3 separate regions of the Homo sapiens genome follow, and regions 2 and 3 are each linked to region 1. Evidence: promoter capture Hi-C in 16 types of primary human blood cells and fetal thymus (Javierre and others, 2016). All regions are on one chromosome and are shown on one strand. The core of a region is centred on a gene start or on the middle of the fragment in contact, and the rest is flanking DNA. Distances in the headings are between cores, read along the strand shown.

Evidence for each region. Contacts are between HindIII fragments. The CHiCAGO score rates a contact against its expected background, and 5 or more counts as called.
Region 2: a contact is called between a fragment that was not itself captured here and the fragment with the promoter of ZRANB1 in region 1, in 1 of 17 cell types (monocytes). The highest score is 5.5, in monocytes.
Region 3: a contact is called between a fragment that was not itself captured here and the fragment with the promoter of ZRANB1 in region 1, in 3 of 17 cell types (total CD4 T cells, naive CD4 T cells and total CD8 T cells). The highest score is 6.3, in total CD4 T cells.

The regions. Positions count from the first base shown.
Region 1 is chr10:124,939,991-124,943,738 of GRCh38, forward strand. ZRANB1 (zinc finger RANBP2-type containing 1) reads left to right here and starts at 2,133. Exons shown (of 9, transcript NM_017580.3): 1 at 2,133-3,317. The coding sequence starts at 2,504. The HindIII fragment of the contact is 2,790 bases long and covers 1,091-3,748 here.
Region 2 is chr10:125,711,320-125,715,067 of GRCh38, forward strand. EDRF1-DT (EDRF1 divergent transcript) reads right to left here. Exons shown (of 5, transcript NR_033847.1): 2 at 155-269. Among named protein-coding and RNA genes, the nearest start is that of EDRF1-DT, 6.3 kb to the right of the region's middle. The HindIII fragment of the contact is 2,245 bases long and covers 938-3,182 here.
Region 3 is chr10:124,409,982-124,413,729 of GRCh38, forward strand. OAT (ornithine aminotransferase) reads right to left here. Exons shown (of 10, transcript NM_000274.4): 2 at 1,992-2,219. The coding sequence starts at 2,190. Among named protein-coding and RNA genes, the nearest start is that of OAT, 7.1 kb to the right of the region's middle. The HindIII fragment of the contact is 4,951 bases long and covers 1-3,748 here.

The DNA.
Region 1 (3,748 bases), core at 883-3,382:
AAGGTGGTTTCATAGCTAAATATAAGCAATTATTTTGCTTTTTCTACTTTTTTGGATTTTATCATCTTTTCCCTTTTAGTAATAGAGTAATACAGGTAGGAATTAACTTAGCACTGCCAAATTAATAGTAATATTAGAACTGTGTACACAGCACAGGGTTAAGGTTATATAGAAAAATGTCTCATCCATGTTTAATTTGGCTGACCAGCCCAGTTGATTAGCCAATTTTATTGTTTTGTTAAATTAAAATTCTAAATATAGTTGTCCATTGTTAAAATAAGTGAGTAGGGTTAAAATAGAGAATTGATAAAAATAAAGCCTTAAAAATCTTTTAGCTAAAGTAGCAGGCTTCAAGTGAAATTCAGTTTTGGTCTCCTTTACAGGAATAGCTATTCAGTCAGACAGAACCACTTATCACGTTTTGCAGTATCTCCTGAGGAAGTCAGAATTCTGAGCCAGCATGAAGACGGAATCTTGTCTTTGATCTGATTTGCAAACCGTACTTTTATTCTAATCATGTGCAAGGTGGAGGTTATAGCGTGGGAACTAAAATCTTAGTAAGTGTGGTTTTTATTTTAGCTATTAAGTAGTATACTTTCTTATAGTGATTTTTTTTTCTTCTTAGCAGAGTTCACACTATAAATGGTGTATGGACTTGGCAGGCAGGAACATAATACAGTATACTTCAAAAGTGAAAGATTTAGGCCAGGCGTGGTGGTTCATGCCTGTAATCCTAGCACTTTGGGAGGTCGAGGTGGGTGGATCACGAGGTCAGGAGTTCATCAAGAGAAGCCCGGCCAAGATGCTGAAACCCTATCTCTACTAAAAATACAAAAATTAGCCGGGCATGGTGGCATGCACCTGTAATCTCGGCTACTTGGGAGGCTGAGGCAGGAGAATCGCTTGAACCTGGGAGGTGGAGGTTGCAGTGAGCTTAGATTGCACCACTCCACTGCATTCCAGCCTGGGCAAAACATAGCAAGACTCCATCTCAAAAAAACAAAAATGAAAACAACAACAACAAAAAAACAAACAAACAAAAGATTTAACCCTCTAGGTTCAGGAAAAATCCCTGAGAAAGAGAGAGCAAAGCTTCTATACTCTGCCTAGGATTTCTTTCTCTTTCCGGGTGAAAAATAGGTGTTGGGATGATACTGAGTTGATAAAAGTATTTAGGAAAAGTGGCCAGTGTCTAAATTCAAGCCATTAAAAAAAAAAAAATTAAATTTGTTATGTAAGTTGCTTCATTTATGAATTAGTTGCCATTAAATTATGAAGTCTTTCTTCATTATAGTGTAGTGTTAGCCCATTGTTGAATCCTAGAAATCTTTTAAGTAGTGTGAATATCTTTTAAATATGAATTGGATTTTTTGGGGGGCAGGGGATGGAGTCTCACTCTGTCACCCAGGCTAGAGTGCAGTGGTGCGATCTTAGCTCACTGCAACCTCTGCCTGCCGGGTTCAAGCAGTTCTCTGCCTCAGCCTCCTGAGTAGCTGGGATTACAGGCACCTACCACCATGCACGGCTAATTTTTGTATTTTTATAGAGACGGGGCTTTACCATCTTGGCCAGGCTGGTCTTGAACTCCTGACCTTGTGATCTACCCGCCTCAGCCTCCCAAAATGCTGGGATTATAGGCTTGAGCTACTGCCCCCGGCCATGAATTAGATTTTGAGTATATTTTAAATATTCAAAATTTAAAATATTTTAATTATGAACATTCACAATTATATTGGAATGATTATGCTACTGGTTATTTCAGTGACCTTCCACAGATTTAATTTTCCCCAGTACAGTCTTCTTTTTTTTACTCCAGATAGAACTAGATTTTGAGGCTACAGATTATCAAGGAACTACCTATTTCATAATGTTACTTTGTTAATTGTAGCCATTACTTCTCAACATGTTTCTTTACTACCTGTGCTAATTAAGAACAGTGGATAATTAGCATTTTAAGTTGCTTTTCTCCCTTAGCGAGAATGATAAAATAGACGTTGCTTGATCTTCTGAATTCATGAATCATAATCTGTGTTCATAATTTGAGAATGGTTATGTGTTTAAGCTATTTTTTAGTTTGTGTTGTTTCCTCTACCTTTGTCTCTTTAAACTATTGGTTACTTTTCTAAATTGATGTGATGGCCTCCCTGAAATTAAACATTTCTATTAGTGGCTTCCCGTTAATCTCATCCTTCTTAGATCAAACCTCGTTATATCTCCTGCCTATCTCTTTTGCATTCCAAAGTTCAGTTTTATTAAATCCCAGGGTCTAAGATTTTTTCTTTGAGAATTTATCTCCAGTGTTTCTATGGAAATTAAAAAAGAAAATTAGGATAATTCAATGTCGAAATGTTGCATGCATCTTTTGAGAAATTTATATTTTGTAGGTTGAAGGACTTGCTTTTTGGGCAGCGTATTTTTGGAGGTGGAATGTAGTTATTTTAATAACCATGTCCTAATTATTTATAGCTTCCTGCCTGACACAGCTCACTTCAAGAAGTGCACAATGTCAGAACGTGGAATTAAGTGGGCTTGTGAATATTGTACGTATGAAAACTGGCCATCTGCAATCAAGTGTACTATGTGTCGTGCCCAAAGACCTAGTGGAACAATTATTACAGAAGATCCATTTAAAAGTGGTTCAAGTGATGTTGGTAGAGATTGGGATCCTTCCAGCACCGAAGGAGGAAGTAGTCCTTTGATATGTCCAGACTCTAGTGCAAGACCAAGGGTGAAATCTTCGTATAGCATGGAAAATGCAAATAAGTGGTCATGCCACATGTGTACATATTTGAACTGGCCAAGAGCAATCAGATGTACCCAGTGCTTATCCCAACGTAGGACCAGGAGTCCTACAGAATCTCCTCAGTCCTCAGGATCTGGCTCAAGACCAGTTGCTTTTTCTGTTGATCCTTGTGAGGAATACAATGATAGAAATAAACTGAACACTAGGACACAGCACTGGACTTGCTCTGTTTGCACATATGAAAACTGGGCCAAGGCTAAAAGATGTGTTGTTTGTGATCATCCCAGACCTAATAACATTGAAGCAATAGAATTGGCAGAGACTGAAGAGGCTTCTTCAATAATAAATGAGCAAGACAGAGCTCGATGGAGGGGAAGTTGCAGTAGTGGTAATAGCCAAAGGAGATCACCTCCTGCTACGAAGCGGGACTCTGAAGTGAAAATGGATTTTCAGAGGATTGAATTGGCTGGTGCTGTGGGAAGCAAGGAGGAACTTGAAGTAGACTTTAAAAAACTAAAGCAAATTAAAAACAGGATGAAAAAGACTGATTGGCTCTTCCTCAATGCTTGTGTGGGTAAGTTTCTGTATTCTGCATTTTTTGCGTGGGATGGGAAAAGGTAGTAAAAATGATATGAAAAGAGCTGGGTGCGCTGACACACGTTTGTGGTCTTAGCCACTTGCTTGAAACCAGGAGTTTGAGGCTGTAGTATGCCATGATCGGTCTGTGAATAGCACTTGCACTCCAGCTTGGGTAACATAGTGAGACTGTGTCTCCACGCACATGCAAAAATGTGAGTGTGTGTGTGTGTGTGTATATATATATGCGCAAAGTCACTAGCATTTGATTCATTCAGCACGATAGCTGTACTTTCAAGTATGCATACATAAAAATTTGTGTATTTGTGATCTTGTCGTAACTTTGTACTAAATTGCCCACAATTAATTGTGTTCATGTCTCTCCATTACTGGGGGCAGTGGAAACGTTTAAGTTAAAGCAAAGTTTTT
Region 2 (3,748 bases), core at 810-3,309, 770 kb after region 1:
TGGGAGGAGTTCAGGTCATGAGGGCTCTGTCCTCTTGGGTGGCTTGGTGCTGTTCTCATGGCAGTGAGTTCTTGCTCTGGCAAGACTGGATTAGTTCTCTCAGGAATTGGTTAGTTCCTGCAAGAGTGGGTTATTATGAAGTCAGAACACCCACCTGGTTTTGCCTTTCTTCACACATGTCCATTTACCCATTGATCTTCTCTGCCATATTATGACGCAGCCTGAAACCTCTCACCAGAAGCTAGAGCCATGTGCTTGAACTTCCCAGCCTGCAGAACCATGAACTAAATCAACCTTTTTTAAAAATAAATTACCCAATCTTAGGTATTCTGTTATCATGATGCAAAACAGACTAAGACATCCCTCATCACAAAACTCTGAAAAGATTCTGCAAAAGGCCTTGTTTTTTCACCAAATTTAGCCTTGTGAATGGCACCCAATAGCCTATCCAAGCCACCATATATGCCTGTGGTAGACTGCATAATGGTTACGGATAACCAACATTCCTCCTTAGGATCCAGTCTCCCCTGCCACATGTATGCTTGGCTTGGCTATGTGATTTATTTGGCCAAAAAAAGGTGAATGACAGTGATGTTTGCCACTTCTGACCAAAAGCCTTTGTAGCTAGTCTGCAATGCACCAATCTCTTTTTGTCTCTCTGCTACTGCAACTGGCAATGCTCCAGATTGAAGCTGCTTCATCAGATGGGACATACTTATGCTAAATATTTGGGACATTCTCATCCTAAAAATTTTTTCACCGTTTATCTGAAATTCAAATTTAACTTTGCGTCCTGTTCTTTCTCTGGCTAACCCAGTTGTAAGCCACTGACACTTAGGGATCATTTGTTTTGTCAGCATAGCCCAATCTTATTTGACTAGCTCACCATGGCCCAAGGAAGAGCACCTGTGTCAATCTGTATATTACATACTAGTAAAGCTTAATTTTGCCCTTACTTTTCATATTAAAAAAAAAAGTTAGTCTTCCTGCACCTCAGGGGACTGTCTTTGGAGACCACTGTCCAAAGGTGTAGTCTACAGGGCAAGGTTGTCAGAAACTTAACAATTGCACTAAAAATGTAGACTAATCAGCACTACCCCAGAGATACTAGATTCTGGAGGTGGCTGCAGGATCTGTTTGCTAAACAAGTTCCTCAGGTGATTATGAGACAACTTCAAATTCCACTGGCCTATGTCTACTATTTGACTTTTTAGAAAGCTAAGTAAGTAGGAGACCTGGGTACTAGTCCTAACTTTGTATGATGTTCAACAAGTCAATCCTATTCTCCTTTCTGGACTGCATTGCTCTCATCTAAAGAGGAAAGAGATTGGCTCAGACAACCTCAAATCTCTCTTTCAGCTCTAAAAGTCCAGGATCAGGAGCCAGAAATTCAGAACCTTCTAAGGTCCAGAAAGTAAACAAATGAGGCTGGTTAGGGGTAAGACATTAGGTTGTGGAAGGGCCCAGGGCAAACTGAAAAGGATATTCCCCAAATGGTCCCTGAGTTTAGAAGGTTTTCAAGTTTGTCATGCTCTGCCAGTGGGGCTAGAGAAGAACCGTGAGTACCCTGGGCACTCGTACTTTCGGCAGGAGCCCCAACCACATTTGCCTTACTTATGAATGTCTTGCTGTAAAAGTTTTGGAAACTATACAAATAACTACATGAATTTACAAATGACTGGGATTTCTCAGAAATCACTGCATGCTGGGAGGATTTTTGCTGAGAAAGTCTAATCTACAAATTGTTTTAGAATGAAACAAACTGTATGTCAATACTAACTTTAATAATTAATGACATTGACATTGCAGTATTTTGGAGCTACTTCATTAAACATTTTTAGCTTTGATTTTGCAGATTAAAAAAATATTTTGGAGCCAACAACATTGTTTTTATGTCTCAAACATTTTGATGAGCATTTTAAAAGCCTGTCAACCCCAGTCATTTTCCCTCCGTTGCCTAAGGGCTGAAACAGTTCTGTCCGGGTGCTGTGCCTGGTGTCAGTGATCAGACGGGACACCAGCCTTTGAGGAGCTCACAGTCGGGGAGGGAGGCAGATACAAACAGGTAATTTTTCTATAATGTGACAAGTGCAGGATAAAGCAATACAAGCGACTGGAACAAAGGAAGGAACCCTGAGGGGTAAGGAGGCAGAGGTGTCAGGAGAGAAGCCAGGTGAGGAAGAAAAAGGTATTTTAGGCAGAGGAAAGCACCAGCAAACGTGGAGCTATGGAACAAGTAGCTGGAGCAGCAGACAAGCATGCTGCTCATTCATTCAACAAACACTCTTAGTAGCTAGAGCATCAGGCACTGAAGAGGCAAGTAAACACGTGAGAGCCATGGGTAGTTACAAGAGCCAGGATAACTACACAGACAAGGCAGAGCAGGCCATGGATGATGGGGTACATCCCAAGTGGGTCCCTGGGGCAGGAGGACAGAGATGGAGGAAACAGGCAGACACTGGTACAATATAAAAATGAAAATCAATTCGTGTCTGAAAACTTGAAATTCTAAGAGTAATGTCTTATTCTCCATGTTTTCCCACAAAATATTTCAACTTCCTATATTAAAAACAGTGACAATAACTTTTTAAAAAACACTACACCATGTAAAAGTGGGTTTTTTTTCCCCACTTATTTTTAAAATTTTTCCTGACCACTATGAGCTCCAGCAGCATGTGAAAGTGTTTGACTAGGGAAAAAGAAAAAATTAATAAGCCCTTAGAGCAAGAGGCATATATAAATTTTATGTAACCCACATGTGCCCAATTGTTCCAGCCCCCAGGGATCATGCTCCTTTACGAACTAAATTACAGTACTGTAATCCTGGTCCTGTGTGTGGCTGCTGGAGACCCAGCCCCGACTCAGGCTTTCCTCCACAGTCAGTCCTAAGGGTCACTGGTCACCCTTAGAGCTCCCATTATCCTCTGTGTGCTCCCAACCTCTCTTTCTGTGCTGACTTCCTGGTTCTGTTTCATACTTTGTCTTTTCACAAGCTATTTCCGGCACATTTTCCCACTAAGCATCATCAACACGTGTCTAGGCACTCACTTCTCAAGAAGCATGCAAAATATTTGAATCCTGAGAAAAGAATCACTGCTATTTCTTTCTTACAAAGATAGAATTACACAATAAAACAACAGAATTTAAAGATTATCACAAGCTGAATTATGTATGTGTGTAAAAGCTTAACAAAATTACATATTATAATAATCAGAAATAAAAATAGGAAAAGAAAATATTAAAGAATAAATTTTATTTTATTTTAATTTATTCTTATACTTTAAGTTTTAGGGTACATGTGCACAATGCGCAGGTTAGTTACATATGTATACATGTGCCATGCTGGTGTGCTGCACACATTAACTCGTCATTTAGCATTAGGTATATCTCCTAATGCTATCCCTCCCCCCTCCCCCCACCCCACAACAGTCCCCAGAGTGTGATGTTCCCCTTCCTGTGTCCATGTGTTCTCATTGTTTAATTCCCACCTATGAGTGAGAACATGCGGTGTTTGTTTTTTTGTCCTTGCGACAGTTTACTGAGAATGATGATTTCCAATTTCATCCATGTCCCTACAAAGGATATGAACTCATCATTTTTTATGGCTGCATAGTATTCCATGGTGTATATGTGCCACATTTTCTTAATCCATTCTATCATTGTTGGACATTTGGGTTGGTTCCAAGACTTTGCTATTGTGAATAGTGCCGCAATAAACATACGTGTGCATGTGTCTTTATAGCAGCAT
Region 3 (3,748 bases), core at 340-2,839, 530 kb before region 1:
ATGTCATGTAATATGAAACAGATTTTCAATAGTTCAAAAGAAGATATGTCTACAGTACTGGTACCAAATAAAATACAAGCAAATGACCAAAATGTGTGATACTCTTATATTGTCATTTTCTGGTACAAAGCTAAGTAATAAACTTTGGTTTTATTTGGTTAAGGCTGTTATTTATTCCAAATTGTAGATTAAATCACCATTTGGCAACTACCACCGTAATCATTTATTCAGGCAAGAATCATTAGTGGATGCTGAAATTGTGAGTAAAAGTTCATGAGTAACTGGATATTTACAGAGTTTTACACTCTGTCCCCACAAGATACTTAATACAAAGGGAAAGAAGACCAAGACAACCAAGGATTGAGGAACTGTTCTGGGTTAAAGAAGACTAAACATGACAACTGAATGCAACTCATCGGAGGTTTTTCTTTTGTTATAAAAGAGAACAAATGACATCTGGATTAGGTCTCTAGACTAATGGTGCTGTACCAGTGTTAAGTTCTTGATTTTTACAATTACTCTATGGTTATAAAAGAGAAAGTCAGCTGGGCACAGTAGCTCACACCTGCAATCCCAGCACTGTGGGAGGCTGAGTGGTAGGATCACTTGAGACCAGGAGTTCAAGATCACCCTGGGCAACATAGCAAAATCTAATCTCTACAAAAAATAAGCCAGGCATGGTAAGGCACACCTGTAGTCCCAGCTACTTGGGAAGCTGAGGTGGGAAAATCACCTGAAGCCGGGAGTTCCAGGCTGCAGTGAGCCATGATCACACCACTGAACTCCAGCCTGGGCAACAGAATGAGACCCTATCTCAAAAAGTCATTGCGTTTTTGGAAAGACACACTAAGTATTTATGGGTAAAGAGATGTCATGTGGCGGGGCGCGGTGGCTCACGCCTGTAATCCAGCACTTTGGGAGGCTGAGGTGGGTGGATCACCTGAGGTCAGGAGTTCGAGACCAGCCCGGCCAACATGATGAAACCCTGTCTCTACTAAAAATACAAAAATTAGCTGGACGTGGTGGCGTGGGCCTGTAGTCCCAGCTCCTCGGGAGGCTGAGGCAAGAGAATCACTTGAAACCGAGAGGTAGAGGTTGCAGTGAGCCGAGATCCCACCATTGCACTCCAGCCTGGGTGACAAAGCGACATTCCGTCTCAAAAAAAAAAAAAAAAAAAAAAAAAGAAGAAGAGATGTCATGTCTGCAACTTCCTCTCAAAACAGTTCAGAAAACAATGTAGAATATGCAGGCGGCGGGGGGAGAAGAGAAGGGAGTGAACACACTAAGACCAAAGCAGCAAAAAGTTAGCACTTGGAAAATCTGGGAGAAGTATAAAAGGAAAATGTCAGTACTATTTGTTACAACTTTTCTTAAGTCTAAAACTATGCCAAAATAAAAGTTAAAAGAAAAAAATGACAGCAATATGATAGTACTTTCCTTATTTCTCTTGCATTCCCTCTTGGTAAGGTCTACATGACAAAGACAATGGTTCCTCTTTGAAGCCTCCATAGCACCTAACACAGCAGCACTAGACACTCAATAAATGAATTAACTGGCCAGGCGTGGTGGCTCACACCTGTAATCCCAGCACTTTGGGAGGCCAAGGTGGGAGGATCACAAAGTCAGGAGTCTGAGACCAGCCTGGCCAACATGGTGAAACCCCATCTCTACTAAAAATACAAAAATTAGCTGGGTGTGGTGGCGCACGCCTGTAGTCCCAGCTACTCAGGAGGCTGAGGCAGAAGAATCGCTTGAACCTGGGAGGCAGAGGTTGCAGTGAGCTGGGATTGTGCCACTGTACTCCAGCCTGGGTGACAGAGTGAGACTCCGTCTCAAAAAAAAAAAAAAAAAAAGAAGAAGAAGAATTAACCATGTCTGCAATATACACATTAAACACATCTAGAAAAATGTATATTGTGAAAATATGGAAGCAATTTTTTTTTATAAAAGGTTTCAAGAAAAGGGAAAAGACGGATTAATTTGAAACGTACCTTTTCCTCTCTCCAGGGCTACAGGTAAAGGATGGTAGTTGTGTGCACCATACTTATATTCCCTTTCAAAAATGTCATCAGAGGTTGGAGGGCCTTGGACTGTTTTTTTAGTTGCAACAGATGTAGCAGAAGCCACTGAAGAATGAACTCCGCGACTAAGTACAGCAAACCTCTGCAAATGTGCTAGTTTGGAAAACATTGTGTCCTTCAAGTAGAAAAACCACAGATCTGTCCAAAGAAAAGAGAATGCATTAAGAGTGAGAATCCTTGGCTTATGCCTATAATCTCAGCACTTTGGGAGGCTGAGGTCAAAGGATCACGTGAGCCCAGGAGTTTGAGACCAGCCTGGGCAACAGAGCAAGACTCCATCACTAAAAAAAATTGAAAAATTAGCTGGGTGTAGTGGTATGCATCTGCAGTCCCAGCTACTCAGGAGACTGAGGTGGGAGGATTGCTTGAGCCCGGAAGTTGAGGCTGCAGTGAGCTGAGATTGTGCCACTGTACTCCAACCTGGGAGACAAAGAAAGGCCCAGTCTCAAGAAAAAAAAAATGGCCAGGCGTGATAGCTCACATCTGTAATTCCAGCACCTTGGGAGGCCAAGATGGGAGGATCGCTTGAGCCGAGGAGTTAAAGACCAGCCTAGGCAACATAGTCTCTATAAAAGAAAAAAAAAGAGTGAGAATCTTGAGTCAGGTGTGGTGGTTTGTGCCTGTAGCCCCCAGCTGCTCAGGAGGCTGAGGCGGGAGGATCACTTGAGCCCAAGAGTTTGAGGCCAGCCTGGGCAACAGAGTGATACCCTGTCAATCAGGCAATCAATCAACCAACCAATCAATAAGAGTAAGACTCTTTCCAGAGCTAATGCACTGTGTGTTGACTGAGTACCTGCTAAACACTAAGTATTTGTTAAGCACCTACCACAGTCCGATACCATCAGGCACAATGCTATGAGACAGCTACAACTGTAGGGCAGAGACCAGAGGCAGGGAGACCAAATCAGAGAAGACTGCCAGAGACTAGGCATGGGGCAGGAGACAGAGGAACTGTCCATCCCTCTGGGCTCAAGCAGTCCGCCCACCACGGCCTCCCAAAGTTTTCGAATTAAAGGTGTGAGCCACTGTGCCCAGCCTAAAATCTTTTATTTAGCCACAAATATCTAAAACTTCTGTAGGTCAAATTTATCATAAACAAAGGTGAAAGGCAAAAAGACTAGGAAAAAAATGTTAACTTATAATAGCTTTAAAGTGTTCACAGCAAGTTGAATTAGACCAACATATACATACATACATAAATACATACACACACACACACACACACACACACACACACACACACACACATATATGAGATTCCCAAACAAAACAATCTATTCTGCTAGGATGGTTGTTTCTACAAAACTTATCCTGAAAAATTGTAGCATAAAAGATATTGTTGACCAGGTGCGGTGACTCATGCCTATAATCCCAGCACTTTGGGTGGCAGAGGCAGGCGATCACCTGAATCGGGAGTTCGAGACCAGCCTGACCAACATGGAGAAACCCCGTCTCTACTGAAAATACAAAATTAGCCAGGCGTGGTGGTGCATGCCTGTAATCCCAGCGACTCAGGAGGCTAAGGCAGGAGAATCGCTTGAACTTGGGAGGACGAGGCTGCAGTGAGCCAAGACTGCGCATTGCACTCCAGCCTGAGCAACAAGAGTGAAACTCCGTCTCAAAAAACAAACAAACAAACGAAAAAGCTATTGTTAGCAAAAGGTAAC